Linked DNA regions of Homo sapiens: region 2 is linked to region 1. The links are contacts of gene promoters, found by promoter capture Hi-C in blood cells and fetal thymus (Javierre and others, 2016). All regions are on one chromosome and are shown on one strand. The core of a region is centred on a gene start or on the middle of the fragment in contact, and the rest is flanking DNA. Distances in the headings are between cores, read along the strand shown.

Region 1 (3,544 bases), core at 761-3,260:
AATCCAGCCTCGGCCCCTCAGTACTTTATCTTAAAAAAATAACCAAAAAATCGAGTCCTTAAAAATCCAGCAGCAGGGAATGGCTAATAAACTATGACACACCCATATAGCAGCATGTATTAGAAACTGTGCTATAGGCTTGGCGTGGTTGCCTGTAATCCCAGCACTTTGGGAGGCCTCGGCAGGCGGATCACTTGAGGTCAGGAGTTCGAGACCAGCCTGGCCAATATAGTGAAACCCCGTCTCTACCAAAAATACAAAAATTAGCCAGGCATGGTGACGGGCGCCTGTAATCCCAGCTACTCAGGAGGCTGAGGCAGGAGAATTGCCCGAACCTGGGAGGAGGAGGTTGCAGTGAGCCGAGATCGTGCCACTGCACTCCAGTCTGGGCGAAAGAGCCAGACTCTGTCTCAAAAAAAAAAAAAAAAAAAGAAAAGAAAAGGAAAAAAAAGAAAAGAAACTGTGCTATAATAATGGCTACCTTTAGGTGGTAATGACAGGAAAGGGGCTCAAAGGAGCCTTCTGGGATGATGGAAATTTTCAATATCTTCATTTGGCAATGGCGGCACAAGAGCAAACATATGAAATTTAAGATCTGCACATTACGCTGTATGTTTTTAATATTTTAAAAATTATATTGACAAAGATTAATCATTAATGATTTAAGATAATCCTTCTGATAGGAAAATAATGGATAAACACAAAATCAGCAGGGCAGAAAAACCATAGACACAGTAAGTCCTCAATTCCCTTTAAAAATGAACTCACAGCCGGGCGCGGTGGCTCAGACCTGTAATCCTAGCACTTTGGCAGGTTGAGGCGGGCGGATCACCTGAGGTCGGAAGATCGAGACCAGCCTGACCAACACGGAGAAACCTCGTCTCTACTAAAAACAAAATTAGCCAGGCGTGGTGGCGCATGCCCGTAATCCCAGCTACTCCGGAGGCTGAGGCAGGAGAATCGCTTGAACCCGGGAGGCAGAGGATGCGGTGAGCGGAGATCAGGCCATTGCACTCCAGCCTGGGCAACAAAAGCAAAACTCCGTCTCAAAAAAAAAAAAAAAAAAAAATGAACTCACAGGAAAAAAGAACGGGACGGCACCTACAAAATATTGAAAGCAGTGGAATTGCAAACGACTTAAAATATTATAAAAGCAATACAAAATTATTTTTAGCCCAAGCGCTGTAGCTCACGCCTGTAATTCCAGCACTTTGGGAGGCCGAGGAGGGAAGATGGCTTGAGGCCGGGAGTTCATGACCAACCTGGGCAACAGAGTGAGACCCAGTCTCTACAAAAATAAAAAAATTTTTTAAAAAATCATTACTACATCATAAAGACTCAACTAACAACCCTCCCTCAATGAAAAGGGGAGAAAAGCTGACAAAAGCTTAAAAAAAAAAGGACAAAAAATAAAAGCTAGTGGGAAAACCGAAGCTCTCAACGTGTATTTACTCAAATGACTAGAAGAAATACTGGCATATGGTGTAAGAGAACTCTTCCTACTTGGGAGCCTGGGAAAAGTGTGCCAGGTCAGCTAATTTGCGGTCTGACTTGGGGCACGACACGCCCCCTCTGAACCTCAGTTTCCCCATCTGTAAAACGTGTACGCTGCGCGGGATGTCGTCGAATGCCCCTTCCCGTCCAAAGCCTGCGCTTCTCGGTAGGAGAGGCAAGGAGCTCTCCGCCAGGGAGACGCGTCCGGGACGGTTCGCTGAGCGGAGCCGGCGCGTAAATCGGGGCTGCAGGGCCCGCAGGATACGGAGCGCGACCCCGACGCCCCTCCCCCAGCAGAGCTGCCGGCAGCTGGCTCCAGGCCCACTATTCCCTCACCTCGGGCTACTGCCCGGGGTCCGCGTGGCTCCAGGCCTGCCTCTCCGGCTCACCTCTCGGGAGACCAGGTCCTGCTCTAGCGGTTGCTTCGCGTGCGAAAGCGCCCCCGGGCTCGGCCCGGCCCCTCCAGATTCACCCCGGCTCAAGCCCGTGGGGCACCGAGAACAATGGACGGGAGAGGCCCGCCCACCGCCGCGCTCATTGGCTGCCGAGAACGGCCCTGGAAATTCTGCCTTTCTGTTGGTGGAGACGGCACCCAGCCGGGCGGCAGGAGGGAGGCTGGGCCCAAGGCATTGTGGGAGATGTAGTCCGCCCGGAGACGAACCTGACCGCGGTCCCCGGAGTAGGGTTTGGGGCTGACAGCCTGGGCAGTGCCTGCGGACCAGAGGCAGGAAAATCCGCAGACTGACCGTCAGAAACCCTGTGTTGGCTAGAGCTGTAACCCGAGACAAGCCGTTTCACTTATCTAAGGCCTCTGTATATTTGTCTATAAAAAGTGAAAGTTGGATGGCCGGACTTGAAGGACCTTTTCGGCTGCGAACCTTGTGGCAAGGAGTATTGTTAGGCACCCTCGACCGGCGAGAGCGGACCCTGGGCAGGAAGGGAATCCATGGGGGAACAAATCCTCATCGCCCAAGCCTGGCGCCTTTCCCCCAGTTTGCAGCTGTACACATGCACCCGGTCTTCGCACACCCCTTTGTTTTCGCACGTGGTATTCCTGTGTTTGGAGGAACGCCCTGCCCCGCCTCCTCTGCCGCGGAACTCCCATTCTTCCAGCTTCTCCTGGGTGGAGCCTGCCCTGTCATCACCACCTCCCCAGGCAGAGACACCGCCCCTAGTACACGTGTTGGACGTCCCCATTTTATTTTTTAAATATATATATGTATGTATTTGTATATATATATATATATTTATTTATACACACACACTCACAGACAGGATCTACATTTCATAGAGACAGGGTTTCCATATGTTGCCCAGGCTGACCTCGAACCCCTGGGCTCAAGCGATCCTTCCTCCTCAGCCTCCCAAAGTGCTGGAATTACAGGTGTGAGCCACCGCACCTGGCTGACGTCTCCATTTTAGTACTGATCACCGGGTTGCTTACTTGTCAATCTCAGTATGGGGGAAGGGAGGGTGCCCGGGTGTGGGAGGTTGGCCTCCATCTTTGTGTTTTACGGCTGGCGCTGTTGAAGAAACGGCTGCCCCAACCCTGCTTGAAAACAGGTGAGAAACTACCTGGAAACTCAAGCGGAAAATCTAAAAATGGAGAGAGACACCCTTAATGGTCTGTGATAGAATAGTTATGTATGTTTGCACTGAGCAATTACTGGAGGCACCTGCAATGAAATGACTGCTTTTTTTTTTCCTCCTCTGTCGCCCAGGCTGGAGTGCAGTGACACGATCTCGGATCAAGTGATTCTCCTGCCTCAGCCTCCCAAGTAGCTGGGATTACCGGCGTGCGCCACCACACCTGGCTAATTTTGCGTGTTTTTAGTAGAGACAGAGATTTCACCATGTTGATCAGGCTGGTCTTGAATTCCTGACCTCAGGTGATCCAGCCGTCTTGGCCTCCCAAAGTGCTGAGATTACAGGCATGAGCCACGTGCCCGGTCCTTTTCCCATTTTTAAATTGGATTTATTTGTAAGAGCTCTTTGTATATTAAGAAAATTATCCCTTTGTCACAGCAGTTGCTACTCTTTCTCAGTTTGC
Region 2 (3,544 bases), core at 319-2,818, 170 kb before region 1:
AAGTGTTCTCTTTCCTGCTATTTTATAAGCCCCTCAGTAGACATTCACTAAATTATTGTTATTTCTAGATTTGGATCTCTACTTGGATATCTAATAGGCACCTCAGATCTACTATGTCTAAAATCTAGCTCTTGATTTCCTCCTACAGCCTTCCGCATTTCAGTAAATGACAATGCCATTCTTCCAGCTGCTTAGGCCTAAACCTCTCTTTCTTTCACACCCTTCATCCAATCCACAAGCACATCCTGTCAACTCAACCTTCAAAATATATTCAAGTCCAGCCATTTCTCACCACCTCTACCATCATCTCTCTCCTGTGTTCCCACAAAAGCCTGCCAACTGATCTTCTTGCTTCCACCCTTGCCTCTACTAGTCATTCCCAACACAGCAGCCAGAGTATTGCTTTTGAAACATACGTTGCCACTGGGCACAGTGGCCCATGCCTGTAGTACCAGCTACTCAGGAGGCTGAGGTAGGAGGATCACTTGAGCCCAGGAATTTGAGGCTGCAGTGAGCCAGGAATGCACCTGAGGATAGCCACTGCACTCCAGCCTAGGCAACACAGTGAGACCCCATCTCAAAAAATAATAAGATAATTTAAAAATCTTAAAGCACACATCACATCATGTCCCTACTCTCTTCAAAACCCTTCAACACCATCCCATCTCCCTCAGAGTGAAATCCCATCTTTCCCACAGCCTCCACAGCCGGGATGATCTCACTGCCCCCATCTCCTATGCCTCTCTCTCACCCAGTCTGTCCAGGCACACAAAGGCCTCCTTACGTTCCTCAGGCATGCTGGTCATGCTCCATTCTGAGCCTCTGCAGTCACCACTCCCTCTGCTTGAAACATTCTCCCACCAGATCTCGGTGGGCTCACTTCCTCACTTCTTCAGGCCTTTAATCCAATGTCACTTTGTCAGGAGCCTTCCATGACCGTTCTACATGAGACACCAATCCCCAACCCAACCATCAATCTTTATCCCTTTACACTGCTTTATTTTCTTCCCAGCACTTATCACCACCTAGCATATATTATGTAATTGTTCATTACCTTCTTGTCTTTCTGTAAATTCCAGTGTGTTTACAGGAAGGTAATCCACCATTAGAAAGAAGGAACAGGCCAGGCACAGTGGCTCATGCCTATAATTCCAGCACTTTGGGAGGCAGAGGTGGGCTGATCACCTGAGGTCAGGAGTTCAAGACCAGCCTCACCAACATGGTGAAACCCTGTCTCTACTAAAAATACAAAAATTAGCCAGGCATGGTGGTGGACACCTGTAATCCCAGCTACTCAGGAGGCTGAGGCAGGAGAATTGCTTGAACTCAGGAAGTGGAGGTTGCAGTGAGCCACGATCGTGCTATTGCACTCCAGTCTGGGCAACAGATGGACACCATGTCTCAAAAAAAAATAAAAGAAAGGAGGAAGAACAATTTGACAAGCTCATTTGTCCAGAATTAAGATTGTTCAAGATAATCACAGATTCCCAAGTGGGCTTATTATGAATCAAACATTTTGCAAATATGCAAATTTTTGTTTCACTTTTTAAAATTTTAGAGAGACCTTCAGTGGTTATGGGACCTCGCCAGTGGGAAGGGGTCTACCTAAAGTACCCTTGTCTATGAATCCTGGATCCCTGTAATGGCTGATTAAATTAAATATTTTATCAGTGGGGGGTGCCTATTGGCCGATGTCCCATAAGGTCATTTGTTTTGAGGATGGGATCAGTGTGACACCAGAGGAAAGAAAAGGCTAGCTCTGAGAACCATAGGGAAGAGGTAGGTACAGGGTGGGAATGAGTCTTAAGAAAAAAAGACACAAAAGGCTGGGCACGGTGGCTCATGCCTGTAATCCCAGCACTTTGGGAAGCTGAGACAGGTGGATGACTTGAGGTCAGGAGTTCAAGACCAGCCTGGTCCACATGATGAAACCTTGTCTCTACTAAAAATACAAAAATTAGCCAGGTGTGGTGGTGCACACCTGTAATCCTAGCTACTTGGGAGGCTAAGGCAGGAGAATCGCTTGAACCCAGGAGGCAGAGGTTGTAGTGAGCTGGGATCGCGCCACTGCACTCCAGTCTCCAGCCTGGGCGACAGAGCACAACTGTCTCAAAAAAAAAAAAAAAAAAAAGAAAGAAAGAAAGAAAGAAAAGGAAAGAAGATAAGAAGATACTGGCTAGGCACTATGGCTCGTGGCTGTAATCCCAAGCGTGAGGCCAAGGCAGGTAGATCATTTGAGGCCAGGAGTTCAATACCAGCTGGGCAACATGGCAAAACCCCATCTCTACAAAAAAAAAAAATTAAAATTAAAATTAAAATTAGCTGGGCGTGGTGGCACATGTCTGTAGTCCCAGCTACTCAAAAGGCTGAGGTGGGAGGATTGCTTGAGCCTGGGAGGTTGAGGCTGCAGTGAGCTGTGATTGCACCATTGCACTCCAGGGTAGGTGACACAGCAAAACCCTGTCTCAAAAAAAAGAAAAGAAAAGAAAAGAAACAAATAAAAAAAAAGAAAATACAAGTCCGTGAACAAACTGAAATACCATTGAATTGTGCACTTTAAATGGGTAAATTGTATGGCATGTGAATTATATCTCAATAAAGCTGCTATATTTTTTAAAAGATAGAAAAAGACAGAACTGGAGGGAGCTGGGATTATACAAGACAATAAAACTGACTGGGACAAGCAGAAACTAGGCATAGGCAGCAAGCACAGTTTACACAGAGCTGACAATTTAGATACAAACTGATACTTTGTAACCCGTACCCCCTTTACCTTTCCTTCTTTGCAAACAGATCTCAGCAATAACCTAGCACCACACTTTGTTAGAAGGAAACAGGACCCAGAGATTTGAGAAAAAGGGGGACAGGACTCCTCTTGTTCACACACCATCCTGGTGTGTTCCTCCCAGTAAACTTTGTAAATGCATCATCTCTTGGTAGTGGGGACCCCTAAATTTAAGCAAGAAGCCAGCAGCCTCAGACCTGCTGGGAACCAAGCCTCAACTTCCGACGCAAAGGACCCTAGAAAACAGTGTTGGCCGGGTACGGTGGCTCACATCTGTAATTCCAGCACTTTCGGAGGCCGAGGCGGGCGGATCGCCTGAGCTCAGGAGTTCGAGACCACCCAGGCAACATGGTGAAACTAAAAATACAAAAAATCTCTACAAAAATACAAAAAAATTACTAAAAATACAAAAAAATTAACCGGGTGTGGTGGTGTACGCCTCTAGTCCCAGCTACTTGGGAGGCTGAGGCAGAAGAATCACTTGAGCCCCAGAGGCGAAGGCTGTAGTGAGCCGAGATCACGCCACTGCATTCCAGCTTGGGCTACGGAATGAGACTCCATCTCGGAAAAACAAAAAGAAAACAGAAAGTGGCCATTTCACAGGATCACTCTTTCTTTGGTGGTTTTGAGGGTGCCACCAGTCTTATCTACCACAGACAACCTACAGTTCCAAAGCTTCCTAAACTGACAGGTCTGGAGGGACACGAGGAGCATGCTATTACTCTTAGAGGCATCCCTATGGTTGCCTTAGATCACCAC

Evidence for each region. The method cuts DNA at HindIII sites, captures the fragments that hold promoters and counts their contacts. A CHiCAGO score of 5 or more calls a contact.
Region 2: a contact is called between a fragment that was not itself captured here and the fragment with the promoter of ZSCAN2 in region 1, in 2 of 17 cell types (activated CD4 T cells and naive CD8 T cells). The highest score is 6.8, in activated CD4 T cells.

Annotation. Positions count from the first base shown.
Region 1 is chr15:84,599,475-84,603,018 of GRCh38, reverse strand. It overlaps ZSCAN2 (zinc finger and SCAN domain containing 2), which reads right to left and starts at 2,010. Exons shown (of 3, transcript NM_181877.4): 1 at 1,884-2,010. It overlaps LOC105370947 (a long non-coding RNA gene), which reads left to right. Exons shown (of 4, transcript NR_186225.1): 4 at 3,216-3,544. RefSeq lists a silencer at 1,643-1,792 and an enhancer at 2,113-2,162. The HindIII fragment of the contact is 3,007 bases long and covers 1,390-3,544 here.
Region 2 is chr15:84,766,818-84,770,361 of GRCh38, reverse strand. All of the region lies in intron 2 of ZNF592 (zinc finger protein 592), which reads right to left. Among named protein-coding and RNA genes, the nearest start is that of ZNF592, 20 kb to the right of the region's middle. RefSeq lists an enhancer at 3,273-3,544. The HindIII fragment of the contact is 3,788 bases long and covers 1-3,462 here.